Linked DNA regions of Homo sapiens: regions 1, 2, 4 and 5 are each linked to region 3. The links are contacts of gene promoters, found by promoter capture Hi-C in human tissues and cell types (Jung and others, 2019). All regions are on one chromosome and are shown on one strand. The core of a region is centred on a gene start or on the middle of the fragment in contact, and the rest is flanking DNA. Distances in the headings are between cores, read along the strand shown.

Region 1 (4,335 bases), core at 673-3,172, 340 kb before region 3:
GATTCAGTCCATGTGCACAATGAAAATCAGCATATCACCCTGGGGAACATTTTAGTTCCCAAGTCTTTGGGTAATGACGGATGGTAAAAAACACTAGCTGTCAATTTTTTTTCAGTAATTGGTTTTCAGTGCTTTTTTTTTTTCAATCTGATGAGAAGGTGATGCAATTAGAAAGGAGTGTCCTTTGCCTTTGAGAGCTGAAAATTTGCTCATGTGATCCCATCACAGTCCGTTATAATGCAGATGACAGTACTAAAAGAGAGAAATAAGAATGGGCATTAGTTTTTCTTAAATAATAAAGTTAATGTGCAATTCAAAAAAAGGGAACGTGTATTTTTATAGGACAGTGTCTAAAATACATCATTCAACAATGCTTATATTTTCAAAGAAATGTCTAGAAGATCTTATTTGGATGAAAAGATAAGTTTCATTTTGAAAAGCCAAGTTTCATTTTGAAAAGCCTATTCTGGGAAAGCCTGGTCCCTACTCAAATCCCAAATGGCCAAACAAAGCATACAAAAGACAAATCTGAGTTACTTGTCACCATCAATTATAATCCCTTGTTTAGATATCTGTGTTTTTCCCCCTCAACTGACCCAGCTGTGAGTTCCTATGTGTCTTAAGGTCCCTAGCACTTGGACCAATGCCTGACACATCAAAGGTGCTCAGTAACTGTCTGTTGAATGGCAATACGGATAATTTATGCCCCAGTTACTTCCAAAAATAGTTTGACCAAAATATATTTGAGGTTTTTGTTTTTATATGAACAGCTTTATTGAAATATAATTGACAAATTGTATAATTCACCCATTTAAAGCATATAATTCAGTGGTCTTTGGTATAGTCACAAAGTTATGCAATTTAGAACCAATCTAATCTAATTTTAGAACATTTCCATCACCCCAAAAAGAAACCCCATACCCATTAGCATTCATTCCCCATTTCCTCTGTCCCCTATCACAAACTTTTAATCTCATTCTGGTGAAGAAAACTAAGATGCCACATTCCAAAGAGGGTCGTGTGTTAAATGAAGCTTTAGATACATAGCCTTTGAAGTCAAGAAAATCTCCAAAAGCTGCTTTGGCTTATGAGCTGATAAGCAGCACAGACCATCTCCCTCTATTATGTATCACAGGATCTGGCCTATAGTAGATGCTCAATAGATACACGTGGAATTGAACGCTTGGCCACCTGGATTAGCTGTGTATGGATGTCTACGGAAAAGAACTAACATTGGTGCTATATCTCTTTTCTTTTTTGAGATGGAGTTTCGCTGTTGTTTCCCAGGCTGGAGTGCAATGGTGCGATCTCGGCTCCCCACAACCTCTGCCTCCTGGGTTCAAGCTATTCTCCTGCCTCAGCCTCCTGAGTAGCTGGGATTACAGGCATGCGCCACCATGCCCGGCTAATTTTGTATTTTTAGTAGAGATGGGGTTTCTCCGTGTTGGCCAGACTGGTCTCAAACTCCCAACATCAGGTGATCTGCCCGCCTCCACCTCCCAAAGTGCTGGGATTACAGGCGTGAGCCACCGTGCCTGGCTGGTGCTATATTTTAAAGAACAATTAACTCACAATATAAGATACTTATGTGGGTCAGTTAGTTTAGCATTCGTTGAGTACTTCCTACATGTGAGGCACATTTATTAACTTATTTAAATCTTCACAACCTCGTGAAGAAGATGCTATTACTATTTCCCTGAGGTTAATCACCTGCCCAGTTAATAAATGGCATAACCAGGGCTGAAACCTAATTGCAGTGCCTGCATTCAGGGCCCTTGTACTCACCACCCCTCACCCTTTCATAGGACATAAGCTGGCAGCTCCCTCTTAAATCCCATCTACTGCTCACCTGTCTCCCTGTCTTTTTCGCAAATGAAGTTATTGACGTCTTCACATTGGAAATCGTTCCACTGCCCAGCATAAATCAACCCAGCACAGTCTTCTCCTGGCCCATGGCCATGACCCCAGTTATCCGGCTGTCCAGCTTTCCAATTTCTTTTAGCAAAACAGAAATTGAATGTTATTTGCACAGTAATGCAGAGCTTTTCTTTACTCAAGAGCAGCAGAGAATATAAAAAAACAAAATTGAAGCATGTCATTTATCCTGGAATGAAAATGCAGTTTAAAAATCAGTACATGCTCTTATTCAGAGAAAGGAGCAGCTGTTTTGCAGAGTAATGCATAATGCGGCATCTCCCTGCGCGCTTGTGATCTTTGCTACCATGAACCAAACTCACTAGGCTGGTTCATCAGAATGCAGAGGGAGCGAATCTTGCTTTGGGACAGTTAGATGAATAACTTTCTAATGTGTACTGGAATGCTGACTTCTGGGCATGAGTGTATATATGTGTGTGAATATCTATTCATTATGAGGACATGATACACACACACACACACACACACGCACACATGATCTTGTGAGAACCCAGAGGGACCTTGTACATTTCAATATCTTGCCTCTAACAAGTCCAAGAGCCAGGAAGAGAAAGTGAAAGACTTTTGATATACATTTACAAGAACCTACAATTACAAATAACTGGTTATGATTGTCTGGGTGAGTTGTAGAAGGTTGATTGCTTTAGAAAGAAATAGTAACTTAATCTTACTGAAAATGACTCCTACATTTCACTCCCTTTTTTGGGAGAGAGATTCTTAAAAACAAGTTTTCTTTAGGATGAGTTCACATGGGGCTTCTTAACTTGGATGCTGCTGCTCAGAACAGCACCTTGCCATGGATAACAGTTCTTGATTACGTTTCCACGAATAAATCAGGTGTGCTTCCAGACTCACCCCTTGAAGGTTCAATCTTGTCTAAGAAGCAGATTCATGCACAGAAGCTTGTGGCTGCTGCCTGAGAGGACAAGCCTGCCTCATGTGGAGGGTCTGGAAGAACATCTGCAGCGGAGGGTGCTTCCTATAAACAATGACTCATTACCGCACTGGCCACAGGGTGTCCTCGGGTCACCCGAGGAGACAGCCTGTATGGCCCTGTATCTTTGGACAATAACACCCGCAAAACCAGAGGCAGCGGGAAAGGACAGTTGAAGTTTAGTCAAAGGGTGGGGACAGGGTAGAACTGACTCCCCCACACCAAATGTGTATTTTGGGATTTAAAAAAAATGAGTATGAAGGCCGGGCGTAGTGGCTCATGCCTGTAATCCCAGCGTTTTGGGGGGCTGAGGCAGATGGATCACCTGAGGTCAGGAGTTCGAGACCAGCCTGGCCAACATGGCGAAACCCTGTCTCTACTAAAAATACAAAAATTAGCTGGGCATGGTGGCAGGCACCTGTAGTCCCAGCTACTTGGGAGGCTGAAGCAGGAGAATTGCTTGAATCCAGGAGGTGGAGGTTTGCAGTGAGCCAAGATCATGCCACTGCACTCCAGCCTGGGTGACAGAGCGAGGCTCCATCTCAAAAATACATATATATATATACATTGAGTGGCCTCAATTAAATAAACCTAGTGATGAAAGAGAATTCAGAGGAAACCATCGATTGGTGAGAGTAAAAATGGGATGCTACTTAGAAGGGAGAGTTAGAAAATAGTCTCACTCACTCACTCACACCAGGCATCCATAGCACTCCTGCTATGAGCCAGGTATCATCTGGGTGATGGCAACATAGCAGTGCAGAGAAGAGACAAAGTCCCAACTCTTACAGCTTACATAACAGATGAGTCACAATGAGTTCAAAATCTCAGCCTGTGACAATCTCAGCCTGACGCCAGATAGAGATGAAGTTGGAAAGAAAAGTAGTTTACTTTCACATTTGGTTTTTTGTGTAACTCTTTTCACCTTGTGAGATTCTTCTGGAGATGTCAACAATGCCTGAGCAGTTTAATCTTGTGGACATACATTTCGTTCATTTCTGCCAGTAATATGGGGGGTTTGATTCCATTTTTGTTTATAAAATTTGAGATCTATGATTCCTGAATGTATAATGATAGGATATTTGATATTCTTGACTTCTCAGTTAATTGGGAAATTATATAAATATGACTTCTTTGGGCTTAGAAGTCCTGCTTAATATTTTCCCCTTGCGTTTCCTTTTAAGTCATTTTAAGTTAAATAAATAAAAAGGATGTATCAACCAGGCAGAGAAATAACTGAGTGATAAGAAAGGAGATAATCTTTATCGCCTTTCTCCATTTGTTTTTCCAGGTCACTGGAATTCTTCACATACAGTACTCAAGGCTTTCCTTAGGACTAAAAGCAGAATGCAGTTCTGTGGCCATAAGCGGAGGTGACTGCAGTAGGCCAGAATGGGTGGAAAGTGGGTAGCCTGAAGCCAGACTGAAGGGACAATTTATTCTGTGGGCTGACCACCCAGAGTCTC
Region 2 (4,822 bases), core at 711-3,210, 260 kb after region 3:
TAATCTTTTGGCTGTTTTTGCAATAGCCTCTCAAACTTGGCTCTAGTGACTCCCCCCGGTTCAGTCTTCTCTGCCTCCGGACAGATCTAAAATAAGACTCTGGTCATGCTACTACCCTATGCTGGCTTGATAAATGTTTATGCCTTCCTGTGGCCTACTGGATGAAGTCCAAAGTCTTTAGCATGTATTTAGCAGTTCTCTTCACTCTAGTTTCCTGCTCTTATCTATCACCTTTTGTTTGTGGTCCCCTGTCTCTAGAATAGTGCTCTATCCCTTTGCCCTCCTAGTGAAATGCTACTGATCTTTCAGGGAAGAACCAGCTCCTTTCTCTGTTTTTCTGCTGCATTTCTTCATATTCCTAGTTTAGCATGTAGCTGCATGCATGTATTTTGCTGATGGGAAGAGGACCATAATTATTCAACTTCCTATTCTTAGAGCCTGTAGTATTTGGCACGTAATGGGCACTAAATCACTATTTGTTGAATTGAAATTAATTCTATGAAAGTTGGCAAGTAGTTCTCTACCACACAGACAACATGAAAAAATATGATTTATATAATTTAAGGTATAGCATAGAAAGATTTTTTTTTTTTTGAGACACCATTTCACTTTGGAGTGCAGTGGCGCGATCCTGTCTTACTGCAACTTCTGCCTCCCGGGTTCAAGTGATTCTCGTACTTCAACCTCCCAAGTAGCTGGGATTACAGGCATGTGCCACTGTGCCCGGCTAATTTTTGTGTTATTAGTAGAGACGGGGTTTCACCATGTTGGCCAGGCCGGTCTCGAACTCCTGACCTCAGGTGATCCACCCATCTTGGCCTCCCAAAGTGCTAGGATTACAGGCATGAGCCACCATGCCCAGCCACATAGAAAGATTTTGATTAGATATTAGGAAGGATTTGGGCTACAACAAAAACTTGTTGAACGATTAAGTCAAAGCATACTCCTTTGAATACTGAAAATGTTTGCTGAGGTTGTCTCAGTTTTGAAGGACTGCTTTCCATTCCATTTTTCTTGTTATCTTCTGATCTAAACCGGTGATAAATTTTATGCTGTCCGATGACAGGCAGGAATGGTAACAGAACTTGCAGATAATAGGTTGCTTACCAAAAGTTATAGATTGACCAAATGAATTTGTTTTCTAAGAAAATGGAGGGCATTAATATAAAACTCAAATTCCTTGGAGTTACTCAAAGCCCTCAAGTATATTTGTCCTTGTCCATTGCCATGGATGTTTCCAAAATGTAAGCTTTGATGAGAAGTGGTAAAGAAAATAAGGCATTCAAACAACAGACATGAGACTCTTGAGTGGCAGGAAATTTTCCATCTCACTTGTAGGTGCAGATGTTCTTGGATTATCCCCTGCTAGGATCTCTTCTGGCTAGTCCACTTTGAGTGTAAACAGGGTTCATCAGGGAAAGGTAGTCTGATTTATTTATTCTCATAAACTTTCTTACATGTGCAAGCCAGATGATTGGTCATGGAGTGAGCTGGGGAAAGAAATGATGCTCTTAGCATAATTAGATAGAACCTGTCTTGGGAGTATGATTTTGTAGGGGGCACATCTTGCCTACACAACTTTTGTAATTATGTAAGGAGCTGATGATCCCATTATCAGACTCTTCTGATCATAAGTTTATTTAATTGTGCTTCAATTAGAGAGAAGGAAGGAGAAGAAACAAAAATGCAAGCCAGTTCAATCTGCTGATTCCTAGGCATCCTGGTGGAAGAGCTGATGAAAAAGGAGATATGAAACTACCAAAGGAAGGCCTCTAGATTTTTCATAAATTAATGAGTGCATATTATCAGTAATGGAGAGAGGATCTTTGTTTTTCCTTTTTGTCTTTGGAGACAGGGTCCAGGGTCTTACTCTGTTGCCCAAGCTGGAGTGCACTGGCATGATCGTGGCTCACTGAAGCCTTGACATCCCAGGCTCAAGTGATCTTCCCACCTCAGCCTCCTGAATAGCTGGGACTACAGGCATATGCCACCATGGCCAGCTACGTTTGCTTATTTTTTGTAGAGAGGAGGTCTCACTATGTTGCCCAGTCTTGTCTCGAACTCCTGGGCTCAAGCAATCCTCCTGCCTGTGCCTCTCAAAATACTGGGTTTATAATCATGAACCAACACACCTGGTGCAGGATCCTGTCTTTTCTTATGGGATCTTTGTTTGAGGTGTAGTAAGCAAGAACCTCTCTCTCTCTCTTTTTAATAGGTTAAAGTTGACAATTAGTGTTAATGAGTAGTTTATATCGCTGACATTACTATAAAAGGCATCCTACTATGAGATTAAAAAAAAACTTAGACAAACTGAGGGAGTAAGGATTTGTCTGATTATACCTTGAAATAAATATATTTTTAAGTTATTCTTAATAAATTATCTCTGTATAGATTATAGTCATTTAGACCAGACTTAACTTTCCATTTTCATTTAAGTTGTCTAAAAACTACATTCAACTTTATTGCCTGGTTGTTGCAAGGATACTTAATTCAAGTCTCTGAAAGCATCTGTTTTTTCCGATTCCTTCTGATGATCCTGAAAAATTCCTTTAGCGAACTGAGCTGGAGGCTTGGCAAAAAAGAACATTCATCGCTTACATTTTCTAGAAGTCACCATTACTATGATAAGCACAAAGGATCCATTTTTAGTGAAGAATATCAGGAGACAGCAGGCTAGTGCTAGAGGAAATTTGATGAGCATGGTTTTCCAGGTCTTCCCAATTCCTTGAGGGAGACGGGCTTGGGTGGGTAGCAATGGTAATTTGCCTGCCCACAGGTACATCTTGGGTCCTGTTGGGTAGAGGGAAGCCCAAAGTAAGGGATTTCCAAATCTCTTTTACCCTCAATTACAATGCCCCAACCCCGCAGCTTAATTTCTTTATATGGTTACAAAAGCAGCCTTTAGCAAACCACCTGTGTCTAACATCTTGACATATTTTCTTATTTCATAACATTTGCTCCATCTTGCGCAGATTATATAATAATGGTTGGACACCAGAAATTTCCAGTCACACAGAATGAACGATGTATGTGTGTAAACAGACACAGTTAGTTCTGGGAAGGACTAGCTACATAATTTGTGGAGCCCAGTACAAAATGAAAATTTAAAAAAATTATTAAGAATTTCTAGATAGCAACAGCAGAGTATTAAACCAAGTGTGTGCCTGTTCTGAGCATAGCGTATGGTTCATACACCCATGAAGCTGGCTCTGGTTCTAGATTTAGGGATGCTGAGCATAGCAGACCCAGCCTGAGTCTGCACCAGAACCCTGTTTTCATTTGTTCTTACTCTATCCTCATTGCGTGTGTGTAATATTTTTTTGACATGCACATAATTTTACAGTCAATTCAGTCTGCGATTTACAATGCAGTAGAGAATAATCAGGTTTAAAAATTTGTGTTTAAAAACATAACATGAGATCTACCCTCAACAAATTTTTAAGTGTACCGTATGTGCAGTGTTGTTTACTATAAGCGCAATGTTGTACAGCAGATCTATAGAACTTTTTCATCTTGCATAACTGAAACTTTCTACCTTTTGAACACCTCCCCATTTTGCCATCCGCTCAGGCCCTGGCAACCACTGTCCTTTCTGCTTTGGTGGATTCGACTACTTTAGATACCTCATAGAAGTGGACTCGCATGGTATTTGTCCTTTTGGGTCTGGCTTATCTCACTTATCATAATGTCTTTAAGGCTCATCCCTGCTCTAGCACATGATTTTCTTCTTTTTCATGGCTGAATAATATTTCATTGCACGTATATGTCACGTACTCTTTATCAATTGATCTGTTGATGGGCATATCAACAGATGGTTGTTTCCGTATTTTGGCTATTGTGAATAGCGTTTCAATGGACATGAAAATGCAGGTATCTCTTATCTTCATGTGTTTTTAATAGGTCTGTATCTCACAAATAGTAGTCCATCCTTTTGGCAATATAATTCAATTATTAAATGAATATAATCAGATTTATGGTTTTACAGACTCCTCTCTATTAAAATGTCCACCTTAGGTTACCTAGCTTGCAATTTGGGCATTAAACCAACTTTCCAGAGAACTAAACTCACTCTGGGACTATGCGAGATGGCGCAGGCCCTGTGATGGATGATCTGCAAGGGTCAGTGGCACATGGTGCTACCTCACCAGCCTCCAAGGGGTGTATTTCATCAGCACAGTAAATAAAAATATCACTCTGGAAGGGATGTTTTGAGACTGAGTAAATATTTGCCAGCAGGGCCTCGGCCCCTTCAGGCAGAGAGAGACCTGGGGCATTCAGCTGCAAACATGTCTCTATTAAGAGCTAAGGCTTGGGTGAGTGTGTTAGCAATGCCTCCAGCAGCAGAAGCAGCAGACAGAAGCAGCAGCAGCAGCAGCAGGCTCTGTGCTGATTCTGGAATCTGTTTTCTTTGCCTAAATCTTAGTTGCTGGGTTTTAGTTCTCATTCTTGATTAGAATGTTTCCGGGCCTTTCACTTCCACAATCTTGTTTTGCTTCAGGGAGGAAAAATGGAAAGTTCAGGTAGCAGTAGTTTGTCTTTGTGAGGAGCAAGCAGCTTGATTTTATATGCACGTGGAAAGCAAAAACAAGAGAGAAAACTGGCTGAGTGATTGCTGCTCCTGCTGTGATAAATTTTCTAGCAAGCTCCAGGTAGTTCTGGCTTTCTCTTGGTCTTTTTGCTTGTCAACCCTATGAGCTGGTGAATGAGGATGACGCTTGCCTTTATACAGACAGACCTCAGCATATAAATCACCTGCAAATGTTCTTAGGCTATTTGTACTTATAGAGGCATCATTGGCACGCGCATGCACTCACGCGCTTGC
Region 3 (4,371 bases), core at 1,872-4,371:
AGGTGAGCCCAGAATTGGGCTTAGCTCAGGAGGGTTCTTGGTTTTGCTCAGGAAAGAATTTAAGAGCTACCTGGTAGAAGAAAAGCTCTACTGATATGGCAACAGCTCCCTGAGTGCCCCTGTAGAGCAGAGCTACCCTATAGGCAGTGTGCTGACAGCAGTAGCTTAAAGGCAGGTCTGCAGTGATATTTATAACCTACTTTCAATTACATGCAAATTAAGGGGCAGATTATGCAGAAATGTCTAGAAAAAGGGTGGTAACTTCCGGTTGTCGGCTCACTGCCATGGAAAGGGGCAGTAAGCTCTGGATGTTGCCATGACAATCGTAAACTGACATGGCACACTGGTGGGCACGTCTTATGGAAAACTACTTCTGCCCCATCCTTGTTTTGACTACTCCTCAATTTGGTCCCATGTCAGAGCCCTGCCTCCAGAGTCAAGCCCTGTCTACCTCACAATTATTATGTATCAGGTTTTTAAAAAATAACACAAGTAAGGCTGGGCATGGTGGCTCACGCCTTTAATCCCAGCACTTTGGGAGGCCGAGGTGGGCAGATCACTTCAGATCAGAAGTCTGAGACAAGCCTGACCAACATGGTGAAACCCTGTCTCTCCTAAAAATGCAAAAAAAAAAAAAAAGAAAAAAAAATTAGCTGGGCATGGTGGCAGGCGCCTATAGTTCCAGCTACTTGGGAGGCTGAGGCAGAATTGCTTGAACCCATGCAGCGGAGTTTGCAGTGAGCTGAGCACCACTGCACTGCAGCCTGAGGGACAGAGCAAGATTCCACCTCAAAAAAAAAAAAAAAAAAAAAAAAGGAAAAAGAATAACACAAGGAAATTAAACACAGATAACGTGCATCTGGATAATCTGGAATATTTTCAGCCTGGGATCTTCCTCGTGCTCGGAAACGTGTAGGGAAACGTGTAGGGACAGTTTTCAGCTGGTGTGGGGTGGGGGAATGCCAACATATGGTTGGCTTTCCACAGTCCTGCTAAAGCCCTGCAATGTGCAGAACAAACCGGTCCAGCTAAGAAAAGTCCCACCCAAAATGCTGAGAGCACCTCTGTACTCAATCAACCGTTGAGGTAAAAGGATGCTTGCAAGTACAACACATGTATCAGTGCATTTTAAACTCATTATAAAATCGTTCTGTAAACCAAAAATAAAATTCTACGCCCAGAACCATCTGAAAAGACCACTCCTCTGGGTCAAAGGCATTCCAAATTTAACCACAAAAACTAGTTCAGGCCATGATGGGAAGGGGAGCCAGACATGCCTCATTATTCCCTCCTCCGTTTGGAATTTAGGCACAGCTGACCAGCATTGACATCAACACAGGCCTCAAGACAGGTAGAACACACTCTTTAAGTCTGACAAGAAACATTTACAATCTATCTCTCTAAAGCCTGCTACCTGGAGGTTTAATCTGCATGATGAATCCATGGTCTCCACAACCCCTTATCTTAACCCAGATATTCCTTTCTATTCATTCAAATCTTTTTTTTTTTTTTCCCCATACGGCTCTGTCACCCAGACTGGAGTGCAGTGGCGCTTTCTCAGCTACTGCAAGCAACCTCCGCCTCCTGGGTTCAAGCGATTCTCCTACCTCAGCCTCCTGAGTACCTGGGGTTACAGGCGTGTGCCACCTCGCCCCACTAATTTTTGTATTTTCAGTAGAGAGGGTTTCACTATGTTGGCCAGGATGGTCTCAATCTCCTGACCTCGTGATCTGCCCGCCTCGACCTCCCAAGTGCTGGGATTACAGGCGTGAGCCACCGCGCCCAGCCCTCTATTGATTCCAGATCTTTAGATAACAATTCTTTCAACCAAATGTATAAAAAATCAAGTTGTAGCCCAACCACCTTGGGGACATGTTCTCAGGATCTGCTGAGGGCTCTATCACCGGCCATTGGTCACTCATATTTGGCTCAGAATAAATTTCTTCAGATATTTTACAGAGTTTAACTCTTTTCATCAACAGTTCCCACTCCCCAGTGTTAATGTTATAAACAATTCAGTAAAACTGGGAAATGTGGTCTATTAAAAACTTGGGGCCGAGTGCGGTGGCTCACGCCTGTAATCCCAGCACTTTGGGAGGCCAATGTGGGTGGATCACCTGAGGTCAGGAGTTTGAGACCAGCCTGGCTAACATGGCGAAACCCCGTCTCTACTAAACATGAAAAAAAAAAATTAGCCGGGCGTGGTGGCGGCGCCTGTAGTCCCAGCTACGCGAGAGGCTGAGGCAGCAGAATTGCTTGAACCCAGGAGGCGGAGGTTGCAGTGAGCCGAGATCGCACCATTGCACTCCAGCCTGGGTGAGAGAGCGAGACTCTGTCTCAAAAAAAAAAAAAAAAGACCGCCAGGGCTCAAACAAAAAACCTCGGAAAAGCCCTGGCGGTCTTTTTTTTTTTTTTTTTTTTTTTTTTGGGACAGTCTTGCTCTGTCGCCCAGGCTGGAGTACAATGGTCGGATCTTGGCTCACTGCAACCTCTGCCTCCCAGGTTCAAGCAATTCTTCTGCCTCAGCCTCCCAAGTAGCCACCACGCCCAGCTAATTTTTGTACTTTTAGTAGAGACGGGGGTTTCACCATGTTGTCCAGGCTGGTCTTGAACTCCTGACCTCAGGTGATCCACCCGCCTCGGCCCCCCAAAGTACTAGGATTACAGGCGTGAGCCACCGCGTCCAGCGCCCTGGCGGTTTTTAATCAAGTAGAAAAGCTGCATTATACCACTTGCTTCGGTTGCTTCAGTGAGAACGAAGAAATGGAAATGCAAATCCCTTATTAGTTGTAGGAAACAGATCTCAAACAGCAGTTTTGTTGACAAGACCGCAGGAAAACGTGGGAACTGTGCTGCTGGCTTAGAGAAGGCGCGGTCGACCAGACGGTTCCCAAAGGGCGCAGTCCTTCCCAGCCACCGCACCTGCATCCAGGTTCCCGGGTTTCCTAAGACTCTCAGCTGTGGCCCTGGGCTCCGTTCTGTGCCACACCCGTGGCTCCTGCGTTTCCCCCTGGCGCACGCTCTCTAGAGCGGGGGCCGCCGCGACCCCGCCGAGCAGGAAGAGGCGGAGCGCGGGACGGCCGCGGGAAAAGGCGCGCGGAAGGGGTCCTGCCACCGCGCCACTTGGCCTGCCTCCGTCCCGCCGCGCCACTTGGCCTGCCTCCGTCCCGCCGCGCCACTTCGCCTGCCTCCGTCCCCCGCCCGCCGCGCCATGCCTGTGGCCGGCTCGGAGCTGCCGCGCCGGCCCTTGCCCCCCGCCGCACAGGAGCGGGACGCCGAGCCGCGTCCGCCGCACGGGGAGCTGCAGTACCTGGGGCAGATCCAACACATCCTCCGCTGCGGCGTCAGGAAGGACGACCGCACGGGCACCGGCACCCTGTCGGTATTCGGCATGCAGGCGCGCTACAGCCTGAGAGGTGACGCCGCGGGCCCCTGCGGGACGGGTGGCGGGAAGGAGGGAGGCGCGGCTGGGGAGAGCGCTCGGGAGCTGCCGGGCGCTGCGGACCCCGTTTAGTCCTAACCTCAATCCTGCGAGGGAGGGGACGCATCGTCCTCCTCGCCTTACAGACGCCGAAACGGAGGGTCCCATTAGGGACGTGACTGGCGCGGGCAACACACACAGCAGCGACAGCCGGGAGGTAAGCCGCGTCCCAGCGGCTCCGCGGCCGGGCTCGCAGTCGCCCCAGTGATGCCGTGGCCCCCGAGGCGGGCGTCATCGGGCAGCGTTTGCCCAGTGCTGGAGGGTTAGGGAGAGCTGCCTGGGCTTGACCGCGCGCCGGTCTCAAAGTCCTGGCTTTGGCCCCTCCTCCGTTTTCCCCTGTGGACCATTCCGCTTCGCAGCGTTTTCAAAAACTGGAGCGAAAGTGATGTGGGCGGGGCAAAGGCGGCGGGAAGAGGAGAGCACTGAAGCTGGCGCGGGAACTTGGTTTCCTGGTGGCCTCCCATCCAATCCCCACGAACCAGCTTTCCTCTTAAACCTTGAAAAGAGAAATTCGGGAGTTCGAGTATAAGTTCTTAGTCGTCCTTTCCTCTTTCCTTTCCGACAGGAGCACCCCAGGCAAAAAATGTCTCGCGGGTCATTGGCGCCAGGCTTTCAGGGGACAGTGGGGCGGGGCGGGGTGGGCACAGGACGTTAGGCAGCCGTTGGCCCTCCCTAAGGCCACACCGTCCTGCCGTCCTGGATCCTGCGCCAGCTGCGCGGGGGAGGGGACTCGAAGGTGTGTGAGCCAGGGGCTGACCTTGACCGCTCAGATAAATGGAGCGCAGCCTTGACACAGGGGTGGAGGTGGTTTTGAATGGGGAAACCCATTCGTGGTGAAGCAGATTCACTGTAGCTAGCGGAAAAGCCCTCCGGCCCACGGACCCATCTAG
Region 4 (4,730 bases), core at 518-3,017, 510 kb before region 3:
GCTACTCCGGAGGCTGAGGAAGGAGAATCGCTTGAACCTGGGAGGTGGAGGTTGCAGTGAACCAAGATCGCACCATTGCACTCCAGCTTGGATAACACTCTGTCCAAAAAAAAAAAGAGAGAGAGGCCGCAGCTTTATTTCAAAAGGAACTTAAGAGGCATAACAAATGTAATCTATGGATCTCATTTGGATCCTAACTCTAAGAAATAAACTATAATCAACAAATAAAAACAAACAAGAAAACCAGCAAAAAAACCCCACCATTTTAAAAACAACTGGGGAAGTTGACTATGGTCTACAAAATAGATAATACCAAGAAAATATTGTTAATTTTGTTAGGTAAGATAATGATATTATAGCTATATAAGAAAATAATTCCTATACTTTTAGGGATGGTTAATAGAGGTTCTTAAGCAAAGAAAAAGGGGGAAAGAATAGATGAGACAAATAGGCAAAACTTGAATTTTGTTAAATCTTGATATGGGAATACAGAGGTTCATTGTACTATCCACTATGCAACTGGCATAATGATTTTATTCTAGGTGAATTTTCTTTTATGTAAAAGTCTTTAAAAGATGAAAATTAGGCTGGGGAATTATTGTTTGAAATTTACAAAGATTAAAAACCGTAACTCTAAATGCAAGGCATGATCTTGGATTGGATCCTGGACTAGAAAAAAAATTACTAGAAAGGACATTTTGCAAAAATGTCCTTTGAATAAAGTCTATAGATTAGGTAATAGTGTTATTGTATTATGGTGAATATCCTGATTTTGGTAGTTGTCCTATGGTTATACAAGTGAATGTTCTTGTTCTTACGGAATAACACTGATTTATTTAGAGCTAAATATACATCATATCTGCAACTTACTCTCAAATGATTAACACAAATGTCATGAGTGTCTATATATAGATTTATATCTATGTATCTATAACTATATATTATATATATATATATATATACACACACATATATAGCAACTATGGTGAAATGTTAGTGAAGGGTAAACAAGAGTTCCTGGTATTACTCTTGCAAATTTACTGTAATTTTGAAATTACTTCAAATAATAAGTTAAAAAATAGTAATGACAAAAATATTAGTTTAAAGGGATCATATTCTTTTCAAAAAGACCAATAAATTATGAAAAGAAAACAAAAATATTACACAAGACAGGACAATTATAAAAAAGAACCAATAAGCAATCTTGGAAGTGTAAAATATAATCATTAAAATATAAAACAATAGACGGGAAAACCGGCTGACTGGACAGAGAGAGAATTAATGATTTGGAAGAGAGTACTGAGAATTCAAACATAATTTACCACAGAGATAAAGAGATAAAAGAATATGAGAGACCAGGTAAGACAAATGAAGGATGTAGAATCTTCAACAGGCCAGGCGAGGTGGCTCACACCTATAATCCCAGCACTTTGGGAGGCCAAGGTGGGCAGATTGCTTGAGCCCAGGAGTTTGAGACCAGCCTGGGCAATATGGTGAAACCCCGTCTCTACAAAAAATACAAAAATTAGCCAGGCATGGTGGCGCATACCTATAATCCCAACTACTTGGGAGGCTGAGGTGGGAGGATCACCTGAGTCTGGGAGGTTGAGGCTGCAGTGAGCAGAGAATTGTATCACTGCACTCCAGCCTGGGTGACACAGTGAGACCCTGTCTCAAAAAAAAAAAAAAAAGAAAGAAAGAAAGAAAAGAGAAGCTTCAATAAAAACCCACTTGTAAGATGACAGCAAGAATAAAAAATTTTGTTAATTTTTAAAAATATGAATTATAAGAGAAAATTTTGGCTGGGTATGGTGGCTCATGCCTGTAATCCCAGCACTTTGGGAGGCTGAGGCAGGAGGATTGCTTGAGCTCAGGAGTTCCAGACCAGTCTGGATAACATGGTGGAACCCTGTCTCTACTAAATAAATAAATAATTAAAAGAAATTTTTATTTTTTAAAAAAACAATGGTAGTTTCAAAACAGAGAATAAGCAGCATCCAAAAACCTAAGTCTCAGCTCAAAACTTCACTCCTAGTACTGAGATGGATAAATTAAATACACAGCTGAACACGCTACATGAAACTGCAGAATATTAAGAACAAAGAGAAAATTCTAAGAGTTATTAGAGAGAGAAGACCTTATCTACAAGGTAACAACAAATTAAACTTAACAAAAAAAGTTTCATCAGCAATAGTAAATGACAGAAGACAACGAAATTTCTTCAAAGTGCTCAGGAAAATTACTGCCAATCTATTAATCTCTACTCAGCTAACCGATCAGCAAGAACAAGATTGAAATAAAGATATTTGCAGACATACACAGAATAAGTGAGGCTATCTAGTACTTATGCAAGAGAGCGCTTCACCTACCTACCCTGACTGAAAGTACTGTTAATATAGCTAATGTTAATAATATGGTGAAAGAATTCGTTCCTCTCGGCAGCAACGTCTTCAGCAGGTCTCATTGCCAGAAATCACTCCGTTGCCCAGCCCTCTGGGGCTTCCATCACTTTTGTCCATTTCTTCTTAATTTTTTATTTATTTATTTATTTATTTATTTATTTATTTTTATTTATTTATTTTTTTTTTTTGAGACGGAGTCTCGCTCTGTCGCCCAGGCTGGACTGCAGTGGCGCGATCTCGGCTCACTGCAAGCTCCGCCCCCCGGGTTCACGTCATTCTCCTGCGTCAGCCTCCCGAGTAGCTGGGACTACAGGCGCCCGCCATCACGCCCGGCTAATTTTTTTTTGTATTTTTAGTAGAGACGGGATTTCACCGTGTTAGCCAGGATGGTCTCGATCTCCTGACCTCGTGATCCGCCCGCCTCGGCCTCCCAAAGTGCTGGGATTACAGGCGTGAGCCACCGTGACCGGCCTCTTCTTAATTCTATAATGTTCTTAGTTTCTGTTGTTGAAAATCTTTCACTATATAAGTAATGGTGTAGCTGAAAGACATCGGAAGTGAAGGAAATAAAAAGGGAAGGGAAGGCTAAAAATTCTAATTTTCTTATCTTATATAACAGCAGTCAGGAAACACTCTAAGGTCAATGAACAGTGCAGTGAGGCCGGGCGCGGTGGCTCACGCCTGTAATCCCAGCACTTTGGGAGGCCAAGGCAGGCAGATCACGAGGTCAGGAGATCGAGACCATTCTGGCTAACACGGTGAAATCCCGTCTCTACTAAAAATACAAAAAAAAAAAAAAATTAGCCAGGCGCATTGGCGGGCACCTGTAGTCCCAGCTACTCGGGAGGCTGAGGCAGGAGAATGGCGTGAACCCGGGAGGCGGAGCTTGCAGTGAGCAGAGCTCGCGCCACTACATCCAGCCTGGGTAACAGAGCGAGACTCAGCCTCAAAAAAAAAAAAAAAAAAAAAAAAAGCTGGGTGTGGTGGTGCACACCTATAGTCCCAGGTACTCAAGAGGCTGAAGTGGAAGGATCACCCGAGCCCAGAAGGTCAAGGCTGCAGTGAGCTGTGATCACGCTCGGCAAGAAAGTGAGACCCTGTCTCAAAAAAAAAAAAAAAAAGAAAGAAAAAAAAAGTAAAAGTAACCAACAAAATAACTACAACCTAATTATTAAAAATTGGGAACCAGGCATGGTAGCTCATACCTATAATCCTAGCACTTTGGAAGGATGAAACAGGCAGATCATTTGGATCAGGAGTTCAAGACCAGCCTGGGCAACATAGTTAGATCCCCTCTCTACAAAAAGTGAAAATAAAAAAATTAGCTGGACATGATGGCACGTGCCTGAGGTCCCAGCTACTTGGGAAGCTGAGGCAGGAGGATCACTTAAGCCCAGGAGTTCAAGCCTGTGGTGATCCAGGATCCGGCCACTGCACTCCAGCCTAGGTGACAGAGTGAGACCCTGTCTCTAACCAAAAAATAAAATAAAATAAAATTGAGAAGAAAGAGGAAGAAGGGGAGGCAAAATACAGCATAACTGACCCACATCCTCATTGTTTACACTGGGGTTCAACAGATATTGCTTACACTTGATAAATTAAATAGAGTTATAAGCATATTATTCAGAATTATAGAGGTGACCACCAGGAGAGCTAAAATCAGAAAGAGTTAAAGTCAGTTGCTGATGAGAAGTGAGATTGTAGGTGGAATGAGATAGGAGAGTTTTGTTTTACTTTAAATGTTTTCCTGTTACTGTTTGAATTTTAAACCTCGTATGGGTATTGCTTTACTAATTTTTTAAAAAGTAGGTAACATTAAAGGGGTCTTTCTGCCTTAACTCATGGGGAGCCCTATGTAAGGCTTTTTGATTCAGGTTAGGGCTTTGCTTTGGAATAAGAGATCATCTGCAACAGTTGAGTACACAGACTTTTTTTTTTTTTTGAGAAAGGGTCTCACTTTGTTGCCCAGGCTGGAGTGCAGCAGCACAGTCTCAGTTCACTGTAACCTCCGCCTCCTGGGTTCAAGCGATTTTCCTGCCTCAGCCTCCCTAGTAGCTGGGACTACAGGCCAGCGCCACAACGCTGGCTAATTTTTGTATGTTTAGTAGAGAGAGGGTTTCACCATGTTGGCCAGGCTGGTCTCGAACTCCTGACCTCAAGTGATTCACCCGCCTTGGCTTCCCAAAGTGCTGGGATTGCAGGCATGAGCCACTGCACCCGGTCTACACGGACATTTCAATATTATTTTTCTTCTTTGTGAGGAATAGTAATTTTAAGAAGATAGAAAACCCCACCTAATTGAGACTAGTCTTTTAATCCTGGCACTCA
Region 5 (4,714 bases), core at 1,253-3,752, 350 kb before region 3:
CAGTATGTAGCCTTTTCAGACTGGCTTCTTTCCGTTAGCAATGTGCATTTAAGGTTATGTCCTAGCTTTTTGTGGCTTGATATCTCATTTCTTTTTGTTGCCAAATTACATTCCATTGACAGGTATACCACAGTTAGTTTATCCATTCACCTATTGAAAAACATATTGTTGTTTCCAGTTTTTGGCATTATGAATAAAGCTGCTACAAACATTCATGCCTATAACCGTTTTTTCATTATCTATATCCTGACTCTGTAAGACGTGGATGTCCATGTCCTGTTTACTTTAAACCAGGTTTTCCATCCTGCTAGCTCCATCATTAATAACATGTACCCATTGTATATGTGTAGGAAAATATGTTTTTTAAAATTATTTTTAGAGATGGGGACTCACTGTGTTGCTCACACTGGTCTCGGACTCTTGGCCTCAACCCATCTTCCTGCCTCAACCTCCTCCTGAGAGCCGGGATTACGGGTGCAAGCCACCATGCCTGGCATGAAAATTATGTTTTTAACTTTTTGACAATCATGACTTGATGTGCTACTTTTATAAAATGCCTCTGCTTCTAGGATGATGTAAATATTGCTTTTGTGACACAGGGCACATGCCACGTGACGTGACTTCAGGCTCGCTGCTAACCTCATTTCCATAGGCAGGAAACTTGATGTGGCCTTGGGCTGGGTGTGGACTTCTAACACTGAGCCAAAGGAACATTTCTGACCAGTGGTGCTATTTTTGGTGACGTCTTACAAGAGTGGTTTTGAAGGTACCACTTTGCTTTTAAAGCTAATTAAGATGATTCTGTGTGCCCTGAAACGGTAGGTCACATTATGACTCCCAATTATATTATTATTATATTGTAAGGAGAGTGGGAAAATAGTGGAATGGAGATAGGACTAGGTTTAGGGCTCTGCTACCCAGCAGCAAGTCCATTAACACTCTGAGCCCCAGGGTCCTCATTTTGTAAAGTAGAAGCATAATAGCAACATAATAATAATAGGACTGATAAAATATCTTAATCCATAGAGGTATTTGGCCCTAAATAGATAAAATTATATGTGTGAAATAGTTTCTTTCTTTCTTTTTTTTTTTTTGAGGTGGAGTTTTACTCTTGTCACTCAGGCTGGAGTGCAGTGGTGCGATCTCAGCTCACTGCAACCTCCACCTCCCAGGTTCAAGCAATTCCCCTGCCTCAGCCTCCCGAGTAGCTGGGATTACAGGCACGTGCCGCTACACCCAGCTAATTTTGCATTTTTAGTAGAGACAGGGTTTCACCATGTTGGCCAGGCTGGTCTCGAACTCCTGACCTCAAGTGATCCACCCGCCTTGGCCTCCCAAAGTGCTGGGATTACAAGCATGAGCCACCACACCCAGCTCTGTGAAATAATTTCTAAGCACTATAGAAGAATAAATTATATGTCTACTGTAAGTATTGGCAAACTTTTTCTGCAAAGGGACAGATAGTGAATATTTTCAGCTTTGCAGGCCATTATGGTTTCTGTTGCAACTATTCAGCTCTGCCATTGTAGTTCAAAAGCAGCCATAGACAGTACACAATGAACACAGCTGTGTTCCAATAAAACTTTATTTATAAAAACAGACAGTGGGCTGTATTTGGCCTGTGGACTGTAGGATGATGATCCCCAGTCTAGTATGAGCATGGAAAGAAATAACCTTTCTCTTGAGATTTCTTCCAAATACAGTGCTAGGGAGGACATTTAATAATTTAGCCACTGTATTGATTCGCAGACTACAAAGTCCCTAGGTGGGATTAAGGAGTTGCTCGTCAGCCCAACTCTTTTTTTTTTTTTTTTTTTTTAGACAGAGTCTTGCTGGTGTCACTCAGGCTGGAGTGCAGTGGTGAGAACACTGTTCATTGCAGCCTCGACCTGCTGGGCTCAAGCAATCTTCATGCCTTAGCCTCCCTTGTAGCTGGGCCCATAGTTGTGCACCACCACAACCAGCTAATTTTTTTAAGTTTAATTTTTGGTAGCGGTGGAGTCTCACCTTGTTGCCCAGGCTGGTCTCAAACTCCTCAGCCCAACTCTTTAAAAAACACAGCTTCTTCCTTGCTCTCTTCTCAGGGTCTCATCTTTCCTATGGGTGGAGCTAACCTCCTCTTTAAGGAGCGGCCACTCTTTTGTCTATCCATAAAACTGCTCAGCCATTCATCTGGGCCATATTATTAGGTGTCTGGGCTGACTAAAAGCTGTTATTTCCTAAGCTGCACCAGGGACTTGAAAGATAGAATGACAAGGAAAGGAAGGAAACCAAGACTGCAGCTTGCATTTTAGGAGCCAGATGCTGTGCTAGGTGCTTTTCCTACATTAATGAAATGAAATTTGCAAGAATTCTGTGAGACAGGTATTAGTACATTCATTTTATATTTAGTACATGTATTTAATTTTACAGTTAGCCCATTCAGCTTCTCGTATATGTCAGTTTCTTGAGTACTGACTTCCCAATTTCCACAGGGAGCAGAAAATTTAATTTCATCAATTCAAAGTAACTCAGTCCCTTCTGGATCTAAATATGATTCCTACAGTTTCAAACTCAATTAATGCAAGATCTTCCTTCTCCCCCTCCTTCCCCTCCCCTAGGATGTTCTAGGTTTCTAGGAGGTTGGCATGTGTATCATCCTGCGATGAGAGGCGTTCAGCTGCACGCTGACCTCTGCCTTTGCTGAGTTCTGTTGAGAGCTGTCTTTTCTGGTCCTCATGGTCCTCTTGGGTTTCCTATCATGTTTGTGAAGATCACACACTCTTCTTATCTCTAGCCCTGGCTTCTTTGGTATTGTGGCTTGTGTTCAGTCACTTTCCTGTTCCTTGAGGGGCTCACAGGCACCTTTGGCTTATGGTTCTGTGAGACTGCCCTGAAGTTCATCTGACCAGGGCACTCCCTCAGCCATTGCCGGGTGTCTTAGTCCATTCGGGGTGCTGCTATAACAAACTGCTATAAACTGAGTGGCCTGTAAACAAGACATTTATTTCTCACATTTCTGGAGGCTGGGAAGTGAAGAACCAAGATGCTGGCAGATTTAGTATCTGGTGAGGGCCTGCTTCCTAGTTCATAGATGGCTCCTGCTTGCCGTGTCCTCACAGGGCACAGAGAGAGAAAGAGAGAGAGAGACAGAGAGAGAGAGAGAAAGTTAGCCCCGCTCATGTCTCTTCTTATAAGGGTGCTAATCCCATTCATAAGAGCTCCACTCCATACCTAATCACCTCCCAAAAACCCCATCTCCTAATACCATCACCCTAGGGGCCAGGATTTCCTCATATGAATTTGGGGGGGATATAAGCACTTAGACCAGAGCACTAGGCTACCACTCTGCAGCCATCTGGGATGCGAGCCTTCTCCATAAGACTTGAATTCTCCTGAGCTGCTCTGTGGGGAGCCAGGCAATGCTGTCTCTGGCCCTGGAGACAGTCTAAGGGTATCTGGGGTTTCTCTTTTATTTTCTAAATAAGTGGCATCAGTTTGCAAGCCCTCCCCAGCTGTGTAAGTGGTTTTGAGCAGTCTCTGCTGTCTTACCCCAGGAGGGCTAGCTGCTGTCTTTGTCTTGGATGACAGATTTTTTTTTTTCTTTCTGGAACTGCCTCCTAAATGCCCTGCGATAGCCAAGTTTCCAAGGAAAACGGCCACACAGAGCTCTGTCCACACAAGTGACTCACTGATGTGCCTCATGCCACCTCTAGGCTCTCCTGAGTTTTGCACGGCTTTATAGTCTCATACTAACTACATAAGGAGCTGAGACAGGGCTGGGCAGAGGGCAGAGTGGCTGCCATCAGTCATGCGACTGGAACCAGTGTGTCTGACAAAAGACGACAATGTCACGCATACTCTCAAACAGCAGCTCTGCCAAGAATGGCGCATCCTTGGCTGGGAGAGGCAGCCTGTCACCTTCTCCTGTGGTGACAAACCCTTGGTTGTTTGTTTCATTTCTTCTAGAAACAAATATGACAAGCTTGAGATCAGATTAAATATAGATCAGTTTAGGATTCTGTTTGTTTATTTGTTTTCTTTTTTTCTTTCTTTTTTTTTTTTTTTGAGAAGGAGTCTCGCTCTGTTGCCCAGGCTGGAGTGCAGTGGCGCGATCTCGACTCACTGCAAGCTCCGCCTCCTGGGTTCACGCCATTCTCCTGCCTCAGCCTCTTGAGTTGCTGGGACTACAGGTGCCCGCCACCACGCCTGGCTAATTTTTTTGTATTTTTAGTAGAGACGGGGTTTCACCATGTTAGCCAGGATGGTCTCAATCTCCTGACCTCATGATCCACTCACCTCGGCCTCCCAAAATGCTGGGATTACAGGCGTGAGCCACCGCACCCGGCCAGGATTCTGTTTGTTTTTTAATTCAATCCGATTCCTATTTATTGGGTGCATTTCATGTATAAGGCGCTGGGCCAGGTGATGAAAAAATGTAAAATAGTCCTTTTCTGCAGATGAAGGATGAGAAGGGAAAAAAAGTAAGAAAAGAAAGAGACCTAGCTACAGCCTCAAGAGATGCCTATTGCCTTGTGAGGGGAGGGGTAGACAAATACTCCGGGAACTCAAAAATCCCGGCAGAGGGTCAGTGCCTTCAGAGGAACAAAGGACGCATGAGAGAGTTTAAAAAGTTGTTCTGGTTGGTGTCTTCATGGAGGATGTAGCATTGAGGCAGAATTTGTAAGGAGGGCCAGATTTCATTGGGTGGAGGTGTGGATGAGGGGTATTCCAC

Evidence for each region. The method cuts DNA at HindIII sites, captures the fragments that hold promoters and counts their contacts. A contact is called where the count stands out against the background at its distance.
Region 1: a fragment that was not itself captured here is called in contact with the fragment with the promoter of TYMS in region 3 in 5 of the 25 tissues and cell types used here (bladder, dorsolateral prefrontal cortex, hippocampus and 2 more).
Region 2: a fragment that was not itself captured here is called in contact with the fragment with the promoter of TYMS in region 3 in 1 of the 25 tissues and cell types used here (mesenchymal stem cells).
Region 4: a fragment that was not itself captured here is called in contact with the fragment with the promoter of TYMS in region 3 in 1 of the 25 tissues and cell types used here (lymphoblastoid cells).
Region 5: a fragment that was not itself captured here is called in contact with the fragment with the promoter of TYMS in region 3 in 1 of the 25 tissues and cell types used here (dorsolateral prefrontal cortex).

The regions. Positions count from the first base shown.
Region 1 is chr18:319,813-324,147 of GRCh38, forward strand. It overlaps COLEC12 (collectin subfamily member 12), which reads right to left. Exons shown (of 10, transcript NM_130386.3): 9 at 1,850-1,995; 10 at 1-252. The coding sequence ends at 233. Among named protein-coding and RNA genes, the nearest start is that of THOC1, 54 kb to the left of the region's middle. The HindIII fragment of the contact is 5,241 bases long and covers 1-4,335 here.
Region 2 is chr18:919,114-923,935 of GRCh38, forward strand. No RefSeq gene overlaps it. Among named protein-coding and RNA genes, the nearest start is that of LINC01904, 6.5 kb to the right of the region's middle. The HindIII fragment of the contact is 4,777 bases long and covers 1-4,349 here.
Region 3 is chr18:654,532-658,902 of GRCh38, forward strand. It overlaps TYMS (thymidylate synthetase), which reads left to right and starts at 3,122. Exons shown (of 7, transcript NM_001071.4): 1 at 3,122-3,416. The coding sequence starts at 3,212. It overlaps TYMSOS (TYMS opposite strand RNA), which reads right to left and starts at 3,760. Exons shown (of 2, transcript NR_171001.1): 1 at 3,311-3,760. RefSeq lists enhancers at 2,846-3,347, 3,348-3,847, 3,715-3,834 and silencers at 3,085-3,264, 3,435-3,484. The HindIII fragment of the contact is 10,369 bases long and covers 1-4,371 here.
Region 4 is chr18:144,292-149,021 of GRCh38, forward strand. No RefSeq gene overlaps it. Among named protein-coding and RNA genes, the nearest start is that of USP14, 12 kb to the right of the region's middle. The HindIII fragment of the contact is 5,775 bases long and covers 1-4,655 here.
Region 5 is chr18:301,645-306,358 of GRCh38, forward strand. No RefSeq gene overlaps it. Among named protein-coding and RNA genes, the nearest start is that of THOC1, 36 kb to the left of the region's middle. The HindIII fragment of the contact is 5,392 bases long and covers 1-4,714 here.